Regions from separate parts of the Homo sapiens genome. Here regions 2 and 3 are each linked to region 1. The links are contacts of gene promoters, found by promoter capture Hi-C in blood cells and fetal thymus (Javierre and others, 2016). All regions are on one chromosome and are shown on one strand. The core of a region is centred on a gene start or on the middle of the fragment in contact, and the rest is flanking DNA. Distances in the headings are between cores, read along the strand shown.

Region 1 (4,122 bases), core at 552-3,051:
TATTTGCAGCTGGCCTGTGTTGGTTCAGTGCTTAACTCCAGTGGTATTTGGGAGTCTGGTAAAGACCCTCAGCCAAAATATTAATTGATTGTTCTTGCTGGTGATTTATAAGATGCTGTTTAAAGTCCAGAACTCCCTGGGAGGCATGCTTCAGCAGTATGTCTATATTATTTCTTAAACATATGTAGATTGATGATTTGCATTTGGTTTACATGTTTACCCAGCCTGATTTAAGCTACGTAATGAGTGGGGTATACAAAATCCCTCTGTAAGCTGTGCCTTAGCTTCCCAAGACCAAGGGATTACACACATATCAAGAAGAAAGTGCTCTTTCTCATGATATAGAAATATTTCTTCATGTTACTGATAATGCAATAAAGTGTATATGCTTCTGAGTGATTTGCTAATGTGTATGTCAGCAACACATTCAGTATCCAGAATGGCTTGAAGTTATGCCTTCAGGGCCAAAAATAACATAATGTTAAATTCTGTAGATTCAATAACAGAATTTATTAAGAAATCTGCACTGTGAGGTAAATGATTAAACACTGACTCTTTCTCAACATTAGATAATTCTTTTTATTCATCAGAGAAATGTGATTTATGACACATTTAAAAGCATGTTTAAGGCCGGGCATGGTGGTGTATACCTGTAGTCTCAATTACGTGGGAGGCTAGGGTGGGAGGATTGCTTGAGCCTAGTAGTTCTAGGCTTCAGTGCGCCATGATCACACCTGTGAATAGCCACTGCACTCCAGCCTGGGCAACATAGCAAGATCCCATCTCTAAAAAGAAATTTTGTTTTAAAGCATGTTTAAAACATACATACACCAGCCTGGCCAACATAGTGAAACCCTGCCTCTACCAAAAATACAAAAATTAGCTGGGCGTGGTGGCACGTGCCTGTAATCTCAGCTACTCGGGAGGCTCAGGCAGGAGAATTCCTTGAACCCGGGAGACAGAGGTTGTGGTGAGCTGAAATTGTGCCACTGTGCTCCAGCCTGAGCAACAGAGGGAGACTCTGTCTCAAAAAACAAACAAACAAACAACAAAAAAACCATACATAGAAATGTTCCAGTAGAATACAAAGAACCACTTTCTAGAACTGAATGCACCAGAGAGGATTAGAAACCCACTTATTCTCTCCCAGCTTCAAGTATTTAACGTTCCTACTTTTGCACGTGGCAGCCTTGCTGACTCAGATCCGAGGGCGTTGAAAGACAGATTCACAATTTCTGGTCCATATTTGATGCAAATATTTAGAACTATCTAGCAGAGCTTGCTGCCTTTCCAACAATCCAGTTAGTGAATTGAGAATGTTCTCATTTAATAGAAATGAAAGGTAAACGAAGGATCCACCTGGCCATGGGACTGGAGGAATGACCCAAGCCATGCTTCATAGAGGCACAGATAGACACCCTCAGGGAAGCCGAGACCCTTTGAAAAAAGGGCCTGGTGTGTGTATTTTCACACTGCCCCCTGCTGGCTGACACTGGAACATTGATTCTTCCTGCTGACACTGGAACATTGATTCTCCTGTGGCTCTAAGACGACCTAACAGGATGAGGCCAGCGGGCCCCCCGCAAGGAAACTTGAGCTAGAGGCAGTTGGATTTGGCTGAGACGCTCTCCTCAGGGAAGGCCAGGTCTGGGAGTGGGTTTGAACAGCAGTGGAGAAATAACTTCCATAGGGCATGTCAGAGTAAGTTCTAGTGTTTCCAAGAGAATGGGACAGGATCTTAGTGGAATTTAGAAGCCAGGCAGGTGGAAAAGCATTGAGGACCCCATCCCAAGGGCTCGAGTCCCTAGAGACAGCCTGGAAAGATTGGGTGCCAGCTGCAGAGAGGAGAGCAAGGCGACCAAACGCAGGGTAAGGTCTGGAGGTGCTCATAGTTCACTACGGGACATGTACATGGAAGTGAATAATTATGTCACAAGGTGCCAAGGGGGCTAGTTACCTCACATAGGATCTTAGAAAAGGTCTCCTGGAGACCATGTCTGAGCTGGTCCTGAGGTGTGAGTAGGGATTCTCCGCAGGGCGGGGAAGGACTTGAAAGAGTCTGGCAATATGGAGCACATCAGGATTATGGAAGGTGAGCTTGGAGAACAAGGCAGAGTCTAGCCTGTGAAAGGCCTCTTGCAATTTGTTGAGGATCCATGACCTTCTCCCATGCATGGTGAAATGCCCTTAAAGGATTTTGAATAGATTTAAAAGACACTCAAAAACAAAAAACGGTAGATTCAAAATAGACGGTAGGGATCGCTTTCTTCCGTTTTCTTTGAAGGATCAGAAGTGTTTACCACCACCTGGATTGTTTTTGGGCTTTCAGGTGAGTGGGAAAACAAAGAAATTCATGCCTGATCATGTTGAGCCACTTATATAATGTTGCTTTGACACTAATGGAGATGTAACTTCTTTTAAGACATAATAGAATCTCCTAAGTGGGTGTGGGAGTCGTAAGAAGGAGGAATCTGGGCTTCTACAAGCAAGATAGCATGTATTCATTTATTCAGTCAGTCAGTCGCTGGATCGATGCGCTTAGCTTTGTGCTCTGTGCTGGGTGCTGTGTGGGATATAAAAGAAGGTGAGGCCGGGTGCGGTGGCTCATGCCTGTAATCCCAGCACTTTGGGAGGCCAAGGCAGGTAAATCATGAGGTCAGGAGATCGAGACCGTCCTGGCCAACATGGTGAAACCCTGTCTCTACTAAAAATACAAAAATTAGCTGGGCGTGGTGGTGTGTGCCTGTAATTCAGCTGCCTGGGAGGCTGAGGCAGGAGAATAGCTTGAACCAGGGAGTCGGAGGTTGCAGTGAGCAGAGATTGCACCACCGCACTCCAGCCTGGCAACAGACGAGACTCCGTCTCAAAAAAAAAAAAAAAAAAAAGAAGCTGAAATTCCAGCTCTTATCCCCCAAGGAATCTGTACATCTGTACTCTGCTTGGGAATCCACAGAAGAAGGAAAGAATGCCAGCAAAGTAAGATCATGCTGCATGACCTCAAGATAGATGTTAAGGACATTTTGATGGGATAAAGGGAATCTTTGCTAGTTCAGAGATGAGCTTTACTGGCTTTGAGCTAAGTGATAGACATAAGTGGGTGGAGTGCAACTGGGGAGAATTTCAGGCCTGGGTAAGGGCCAAGTGTGAATGGATGGTCTCATGTAGGAAGCCATCAGGATAGGCATAGCAAATCCAGGAGTCCTCTAACGATGGAAGGAAGACCTTTGCTGATGTAGGAATCGCATTGCAGGTCAGTACTCCTCAGTGAACCTGGAGACCCTGTTGCTTCCTGTTCCCTACCTCAAGGCACTCAGTCTTACAACTTTGGGCTACCTCTCTGAGACAGTAGACTCTGGAGATACTAGCCATATCTTCATCTTTAACATTCACTCAAGATGAGCTGATAAAGCACCTCTTTCATGAAATAGCCCTATAATTTCTATGATTAGAAGTTGAAACTACTCTCATCACATCTTTTGATGTTTATATGAACACTCTTCTGTTAAAAAAAAGATTGCCCTAGTTTTTAGGGCTAATATTAGATGTTTCTGGCATATTCTTTACAAAGCCTTCAAACTAAGTTATGGTATAATATTTGCAATTAGAAAAACAAATACCCAAGGCATGTTTAGAGGTATTTATATGTTTTCTGGTGTCAATTGGAGGTGGAGAGGCCACCAGTGCTCTGAATCCACAAGCTAAGATGAGCTACTTGTTAGGCTTGGCTGTTTGGAATTGTCTGTTCTTTGCAAAAAGCAGACGAAATGAAGTTATGGTAGTTAGTGGGATGAGTGGGCCACCCAGAAAAGTCAAAGTTCAGGTTGGACTCATTTTCTCATGTATTTAAGTGTCTTTGCCATTTGTTTACCTTCTCCTGTGCCTCCACCTCTCATCATTAGGAGATGGGACCAGCATGCTCGGAAGCCCACTCAGCCTATGCACTCAGCAGGTTGGAACTATTAGGGAAGTATAGCCTTTGGGAGCTGTCCTTAACCAATGATGGACAGATCTTGGTGTATAAATTCCCCAGCTCCCTCGCCCTGCAGGCAGCATAACCCTGAGGAATATGTTCTACTCTGGCATCCAGGGGCCTCCCAAGCAGAGTGAAGCTCCGGTTGCCCA
Region 2 (4,122 bases), core at 1,107-3,606, 430 kb before region 1:
CCTTCCCAAGGAGAGCATCAGGCCTTGCTGGGGCCAAGTGCTAATAAATGATCTGGGCACAGCATTTGCCTACCTTGCTTCAAGCTCTTTCACACTGGTAGCCCCGACTCAAAACTGTGTAAGGTGGTGTCTGAAACACAAAAGCTACCCATTAAAGCAACAGTCCATGCTAGTAGACTCTGAAGCTGAACCATCTGCCAAAGTGTGGGAGGAAATCTTAGAACTCATCTCTACTTACCTCATTCTTCTTTTCTTTCCCATGTATGCTTTGTAATGGGCATTATCAAGACATATGCATATGTTCATGAGTGTAAACTGGGAACATGGTAAAAACACCATATACATGTCAGACACGGCAGTGTGTCAGAGGCCAGGAGTTACCTGTTCACCACTGCACTGAGCAGTGCCTGGAACATAGCAGGTGCCCCAAGATTTGTTGAACTAATGAGCTAATTAATTCTACTTGACCTATGATGGACCAAAGTGTCCAGACTACACTGAGATATGATAGTACCCACTTTCCTGCTCATGTGCCTGACTGGTGCCCCTGCAGCAGCCCTGGCAGCAGGACCAGACCAGCATCCACTCCTGCCTCACTCCTGGTGGGTACTGAGACCAGCACAGCAGGGAGAGGCTGCCCTGCCTCTTCTGACTCATATCCACCCAGCTCCCAGGCACCCCTCCTCCTTCCTTCCCTTTCAATCCCGAGGGCCGGGAACAGAGGCCAGGTGGGGCAGACCCTCTCAGGTTCTCTCTCAACCACCGCCTCCCACAGTTCCTCAGCCATTTCCCAAGGGGGTTGTAGTGCTGGTATAAACAGGAAACAAGAGTGCTGCTTTAAAGGAAGGGGGAAGCTCCTCTGAGGGTCCACCCCTTTTGGTTTACACAGACCCTCTAGAGAAAGGCAGAAGCACTTAGGATGAAGGACACATGGAGTGTCCTGTGTACCAGGGGCTCAGTTAAGAGCCATTAGCATTTTTGGAGAAACTCATGCTCAGAAAGCTTCTCCACCAACTGCCCAGAAGCTTCCCCACACCCAGCACTGACCCAAAGATCAGAACATAACAGAAGCAAGAGAAGGCAGTGAGGGAGGGCCAGAGGGAGCAGTGGGCAGGAGGGGATGTTCCTTGTGGTTAAGGTCTGGCTTTTCCTGGGGAGGGACCTAGCTCAGTCCAGAACAGCATTTGTGGAACTCATTTTCACTATCAACTCTCTGGGAAGAAAACCCTGCTGTTTGGGTTTCCTGCCAGCCTGGTGGGAGGCTTCCTGGACAGCATCCTTCTGAGGCTCCCTTTCGGTCTTCACTTGGTGCCAGGGGCCCACCCTCCTACCTGGATATTTCTCAAGACTCTGACACCCAAAGTAGTGATGGTCAGTGTTTGACCCAAAAAAGTGTGGCTGTGCCCATGGCTAGAGAGAATCCCTTGGGCACTGTGTCAGGCTCCACACCGGTGGAACCTATCCTACCCTATACCCCATTTCTTTTTTTTTTTTCTTTTCTTTTTTTTTTTTTTTTGGGGGGACAGAGTCTTGCTCTGTCATCCAGGCTGGAGTGCAGTGGCACAATCTTGGCTCACTGCAGCCTCCACCTCCCGGGTTCAAGCGATTCTCCTGCCTCAGCCTCCCAAGTAGCTAGGATTACAAGTGCCCGCCAACACGCCCAGATAATTTTTATATTTTTAGTAGAGATGGGGTTTTGCCACATTGGCCAGGCTGGTCTTGAACTCCTGACCTCAGGTGATCCACCTGCCTCGGCCTCCCAAAGTGCTGGGAATACAGGCGTGAGCTACCGTACCCAGCTCCATACTCTATTTCTTTACCAGATAATGACTCAGCTCTGGACTACACTAAAGAAAACATATTAATATTCTGTTCATATTTGCCTAAGAGGAACTAAAAACTAGGGAAAGAAAATAAGCAGTACCATCATTCAGCTTTTCTTCTCTTTTTCTTTCTTCTTCAAGGAAATTTCATTAAAAGGCAGACTTCAAGGCACTGGTGGGTTATGCCTCCAACAACTCTGCCTTTCCCACTGACACTGCATTCAAATTCACAAGTTTCACTGACTAACTTCATAACCTACACAATTTTTTGCACTGCTTTATATGCAAATTATCAACTTTCTCCTGGAGGAAAGTCATTAGTCTAAGCCTAACTTTTCTGCTGAATACCATGGCCTCCATCTTCTAGATCAAGCCCTGTGACCAGCTGCCAGGGAGGGCAACTCCCCACTCACACAGGATCCTAGGAGAGAAATTACCAGAGATGGGTTTATCCTTAATAAGCATCCTTAATAAGTGTCAGGGACTTAGGTGGCCCTCTCAATGAAAAAGCCAAGTAGGCTTTCATCTGAGTTCCTACTGAAAAAAAATATACATATATACATATATATACATATATCTGGCCAGTGTGTGACAGCATCCATTTGTGTGTGTATATTGTTGGGAATAACAAAGAAATACTTTTAGCCCTAATACTAACTCCATTTGACAAGTTCAATTGTCAGAACAAAACACCAAACAGAAGGAGGACCCCACTCTGAATGAGTTCACAGTCATCCCCAGTATGGCCATACCCTGTCCTTCAAAAGCCTCACAGCAATAATGGGATTCAAAGAAAATGTATTCAGCTACCCAGATGGACAGCTTCACTTCCGGCATCTCTAACAGGTTAACTGCACTCAGAGAAAGGACAAGAAAATACATGAATGTGGCAGATTCAGCTTCTTAAAACCTAACTGGCTGTGAGCCATTCTGTCTCCAGATAAAGCTATTTACAAAGGACCACAGGGGACTTGGTAGAGGACACAACACTGATGGCAAAGGACAACTGTCCCCAGGACAGCCACACTCGGAGTCAGCCATGTGCTTGCCATGCCTTCTCCTCCCACCTCCTTAGAGACTCACTCCATTGCCCTCTCCATCTTCTCATCTCTCTCCCTCACCACAGCCCTACTTACAACCATCTAGGCAGGCTCAACAAACAACTTCTGACAGCTCATCCAACCAATGCACTTTCTTCCCCACTTCATGGGTAAACCTCTGGGAAGAGCTGTCGACATTTCATGTCCCCTCCCTGGCTGTGCATCATTCCTCAAACCACAACAACCCAACTTCAACCCCACCTGTTCCACTGAAGCAGCTCTCCCAGGTCAACAAGGACTTTGTCACGAAACCCAGCAGGGACTCAGTCCTCACCTCGTTCAATCCCTCAGCAGCTTTTAATGCTACTATTGAAAAACACTCTTCCTCTGGCTTCCAAGCAGCACCTCCCCCTGGGTTGATGCCTGCCTCTCTGGCCAGGCATCTTTAGCTGACCTTCTCCTTAGGAACTGCCTCTTCATCAGCCTGTCCCCGCATTTGAGGGTTCCTTGGGGTTGGTCCTAAGCTCTCTTATTCTTCTGCTGCCTCCCACTCTCCCTGAGTTTCCCCATTCATTCTCATGCTCCCTGCTGTCTCTTCTTGAGCTACAGACCCTAAATCCAAATAACTACTAGATGTCTCCACAGACACCTAAAACTCACCATGTGTCCAAAACCAAGCTCATCATCTCTTCCCACAAACCTCTTCCTTCTACTATGTGACTTATCTTAGCAAATGGTACCCTTTCCCCGAATTTTCAAGAGAACAAGGTGGCCATCACCCTTAGTGGCTCCTTTCTCAGCTTGTAGATCTGTCACCAAGCTTGTTCATGCTACCTCCAAAACAGCTTTCAGTTGCATCCACTCCTTATGCCACCTGTCATTCCCTTAATTCAAGCCAACATCATCCCTCCTGAGTAACTGCAACAGCCTAACTGGCTACCTCACCTTCAGCCTAGAGTCCACTCCCACCTACGCTCTCGCCACTGCAACACGAGGACCTTCCCAGAAATTCTGATTGTGTCACTCTCCATCCTGAACCCCTTCCACAGCTCCCCAGTACCTAGATGACAGGTCTTCAAAATGGCATACAAGCCCCTTGAGATCAGGGTCTTATCTACTCATCCAGCCTTATCTCTTACAGCCATTCTGAACTAGAGTCAGTTTCTAGAACAGGTTGTACTTTCTTACCTTTAGGACTTTTGCTCCTGTGTTCCTACTTAAACAGTCTGCAAACCACCCTCTACTAAAACCCACTTCTC
Region 3 (4,122 bases), core at 786-3,285, 260 kb before region 1:
CGCATGCCTGTATTTCCGGCTACTCAGGAGGCTGAGGCAGGAGAATCGCTTGAACCTGGGAGGTGGAGTTTGCAGTGAGTCGAGATCGTGCCACTGCACTCCAGCCTGGGTGACAGAGTGAGACTGTCTCCTAAAAAAAAAAAAAAAAAGATCAACAGTAATGATTTGAAATTATATGGTGCTTTGTACATGTAAATTGAAGCTTTTTAAAAACGTATTTATATTTAATCCTCTTAGGCTTTTTAAATTTAAACATCTTACAGTCCTTCCTGAACCGTTTCCTGGCCTTGCCCATAAAACTCTCACACACCAGTCTGTTGGTTCCCAGTGCCCAGTAACCTCACCTCATTAATTCATTTTCATGCCCTGCTATTCCTCCAGTTGTTCTCTGGGCTTGCTTTTATTCTTTCTGTAGGGAACCATCCTCCTCCAGGTTAAGCTGTGCATTGCAGCCTCTAGGTTGAAACGAGCCCTTTGTGCGCTATGCCGTTCTTCTCATTTTCTCTGTGGCTTTGCTATTTTGAACCTGTTATTTCGTCACAGGTTCTAGGTTCTTGGCTCTCCTGTAATTGAGGTCTGCTTTCAGCTTGCACCTTTCATAGGCCTTTCATACATTTATTACATTGAGTGCCTGATCTGTGCTGGGTAATATTCTTGGTGCTTGGGATGCTGCAGGGAGATTCCCAGCCCACATGGAGCCCACACTGTAGGGATGTGGACAATGAGATCTGGTTCTGTGAAGAGGAATCTGACAAGGCTCGGGGGATTAAGTGTGGGGATGGGAGTTGATATTTTTGGAAGGGTAGACAGGGAGGAAGGTATATGAGTCTGCTAACACTGCCATAACAAAAATAGCACAGTGTGGGTGGCTTAAACAACGGAAATTTGTTTCGTATAATTCTGGAGTCTGGGAAGTCCAAGGTCAAGGTTCTGGCCTCTTTAGTTTCTGGTGAGGGCTTTCTTCCTGGCTTGTAGGTGGCCATCCTCTTGATGAGTCCTCACATGGCCTTTTCTTGGTGCCATTTATCTTTCTGTTCAAGCACTGTTGGTCACACCTGTAATCCCAGCACTTCAGGAGGCTGAGGCAGGAGGATCACTTGAGACCAGTCTAGGCAACATAATAAGACTCTGTCTCTACAAAATAAAATAAAATAAAATAAAAAATTCGCTGGACGTGGTAGTAGTGCCTGTAGTCCCAGCTACTCAGGAGGCTGAGGTGGGAGGATTGCTTGAGCCCAAGAGGTTGAGGCTGCAGTGAGCCATGATTGTGCCACTGCACACCAGCCTGGGTGACAAAGCTACTTTGTTTAAAAAAATAAAGTTTTCCTATTGGATCAGGGCCCCATCCTTAAGAACTCATTTAAACTTGGTTACCTCCTAAAGGCTCTATCTCTAAATACAGCCACATTGTGGGGGTAGGGCTTCAATATAATGAATTCTTTCGGTGGTGGTGGGGGATACAGTTGAGTTCATAGCAGAGGGCTTGAGTCATTTTTAACTAAAGATGTGTAGGGAGTGAGGCATGTGGAGATCTGGGAGAAGGATCATTCTGAGGGGAGGAAACAGCAGATACAAAGGCCCTGAGGCAGGAGGAGGGGAGAATTTGGTCTTGAGGTCAGAGAAACCATGGGGGTCAGATCATGTAAGGCCATGCGGACCACTGTAAGGCTGGTAGATTTTACCTTGAGGGTGGTAGAAGCCATTGGAGGGTTTTGGAGTAAAGAAGGGAGGTGGACTGATCTAGCTTTTAGCAAGCACACTCTAGGCGTTGCTGTGTGAGACAGATTGAAGGCAGGACAGCAAGGAGACCAGCCAGAATGCAGGGCTGAGGGGAGACTAGTGGGATTTCAAGGTGAGGTTGAGATTTGCTGATGAACCAGAAAGAAAACTGAGGAGGACTCCGAGGTTCTGGTCTTAGCACCTAGAAAGAAAGAGGCCATTAACTGAGATGCTGGAGGAGCTGGTTTAGGCCATGTTAAGTTGTGATGCCAACCCAGCATACCCAAATGCAGCAGAAAAGCAAGGGTGGAGATTTTTGGGGAAGGTCATCCTCAATGGAAATATAAATCTTGGGAGCTTCTCATTGTCCTTTGTCCCAATTTTCGACTTTGACCTCAGGTGACCTCAGCCAAGTCTGTGACCTCAGATCTAGGTGTCTCTAAGGCCCTCTATGGAAATTCCATCCTTAAAGGAGAGTGGTTTTCTCTGGTCAGTGATCAGGAAAATCTTCACTCATGAGTTGTTGTTTTTTTTTTTTTTTTTTTTTTTTGAGATGGAATCTTGCTCTGTCACCTAGGCTGGAGTGCAGTGGTGTGACCTCGGCTCATTGCAACTTCTGCCTCCCGGGTTCAAGGGATTCTCCTGCCTCAGCCTCCCAAGTAGCTGGGATTATGGGTGCATACCACTGTACCCGGCTAATTTTTGTATTTTTAGTAGAGATGGTGTTTCACCATGTTGGCCAGCCTGGTCTCAAACTCCTGACCTCGTGATCCGCCCACCTTGGCCTCCCAAAGTGCTGGGATTACAGGCATGAGCCACCGTGCCTGGCCCACTCATGAGTTTTGCCCACTCATGAGTTTTGCTCAAAGCAGCTGATGGCTCGGGCTTCCTTCCCAAAGGCATCATCTCATTGAGCACCTGGTGGAGGTCATCCATCTATGTGTGTAACTCTTACAGAGATGAATCCCTCTATCTTCTAAGTTGAATGGAAGTGCAGTTTGATAAGGTGCGCTTCTCTGTTGGACCCTCTCCAAGCAATAGAAGGGACCCTAGAAAGACAAGAGAGCCCCATGTGATAGGGCCAAGGAAACAGTGATGGTGCCCATAGGTATTGATTATGCATTGGGCACTTTAGGTTATTATTGCTAGTCCTAGCAACTGGCAGGCAAGGTGGCTTCTGGTCCTTCATTTATTGATGAAGTCTTGGGTAACTTCTGTAAGTTAATTCCTGAGTCTTGAATTCTGTTCCATTAAACCACTGTAGAACACTATTCCCAGCTCTCATCTGAAACTCAGGGTTTCTAAGTTCTCGTTAGTATAGAAGAGGGCAGAGAAGCCAGTGTCAGTTGAGTGCCAGGGAGCTCTGCCCAGCACTCCTGTGTTCTTTCACGTTGATCAGTCTCTGCAGCCCTGTGGGCTGGGTATTAACGCTTTTCATCCTACAGCTGAGGATGCTGAGGTGTGGCAGGAGGGCAGCTTCTTGCCTAGGGTCTTAGCGCTGACAAGTAGAGTCAGGATTTGACCCTAGGCCGGTCAGTTGCCAAGCTCGAAGTTAGACTCTAATCATGCTGTGTTCCAGGATGACTTTTGGGGACTTGGGATAGAAAGTAGGGTTAGGCTACAGAAGTTGGGAATGACATTCCAGATCGAGGGATCAGTGTGAGCAAAGGGTGGAGCAGGAGAGGCATGTGACTGGGAGAGGGTAACTGAGTTAGGACAGTTGGAAGGATGCTGAGGATGTGATGGGGGTCAGGTGGAGAGGTCCTTTGATACTGTATTATGGGGCTTGAATCTTTGTCTGGAAAGGCACGGGGAGATTCCCAGAAGGGGAGTGACTTGTTCAGATGTGCATTTTAGAAAATTTTGGGGTGGAGTAAAGGGTGCACTGGGAGGAGGCTGAGGCTGAATGGGAGCAGGACCGTCTCCTCTTGCTCCTGCCTTGTTTGCCTGTGGTTCATTCCTGGCTACAGTGTTTGCCTTTATGCACCCTAGCTTGGATTCTTTCTGTCAATTCCCTTGTTTGTTCCTGTAGGAATCTTCTACCCACCACCTCAACGCTCACACATTTTTTCCCCCCACTGGCTTTCCTTTGTTCAAGTGAATATATACATACCCCCAGCTCCATTCAATTAAATTTGAATAAGCTTTTTCATTTTGGACCATCATTTCATCTCAGAGTTCTTGGCTTTGTGACTCTGAGGGTCTTCTCCACCCTGCTTCAGACCGAAAGCACTGCTGTGTCCTCAGTCTTCATGAAGGAAACACAATTGCTTTCTTTCTTTCTTTTTTCTTTTTTTTTTTGAGACAGAGTTTTGCTCTTGTTGCCCAGGCTAGAGTGCAATGGTGCGATCTTGGCTCACTGCAACCTCCACCTCCTAGGTTCAAGCGATTCTCCTGCCTCAG

Evidence for each region. Contacts are between HindIII fragments. The CHiCAGO score rates a contact against its expected background, and 5 or more counts as called.
Region 2: a contact is called between a fragment that was not itself captured here and the fragment with the promoter of PRNT in region 1, in 1 of 17 cell types (naive CD4 T cells). The highest score is 5.3, in naive CD4 T cells.
Region 3: a contact is called between a fragment that was not itself captured here and the fragment with the promoter of PRNT in region 1, in 2 of 17 cell types (naive CD4 T cells and total CD4 T cells). The highest score is 5.5, in naive CD4 T cells.

The regions. Positions count from the first base shown.
Region 1 is chr20:4,738,347-4,742,468 of GRCh38, reverse strand. It overlaps PRNT (prion locus lncRNA, testis expressed), which reads left to right and starts at 1,801. Exons shown (of 2, transcript NR_024269.1): 1 at 1,801-1,869. The HindIII fragment of the contact is 12,166 bases long and covers 1-4,122 here.
Region 2 is chr20:5,165,812-5,169,933 of GRCh38, reverse strand. The region is part of intron 1 of CDS2 (CDP-diacylglycerol synthase 2); the gene reads right to left. Among named protein-coding and RNA genes, the nearest start is that of CDS2, 41 kb to the right of the region's middle. The HindIII fragment of the contact is 2,658 bases long and covers 1,028-3,685 here.
Region 3 is chr20:4,994,833-4,998,954 of GRCh38, reverse strand. The region is part of intron 1 of SLC23A2 (solute carrier family 23 member 2); the gene reads left to right. Among named protein-coding and RNA genes, the nearest start is that of SLC23A2, 4.6 kb to the left of the region's middle. RefSeq lists an enhancer at 1-457. The HindIII fragment of the contact is 3,661 bases long and covers 205-3,865 here.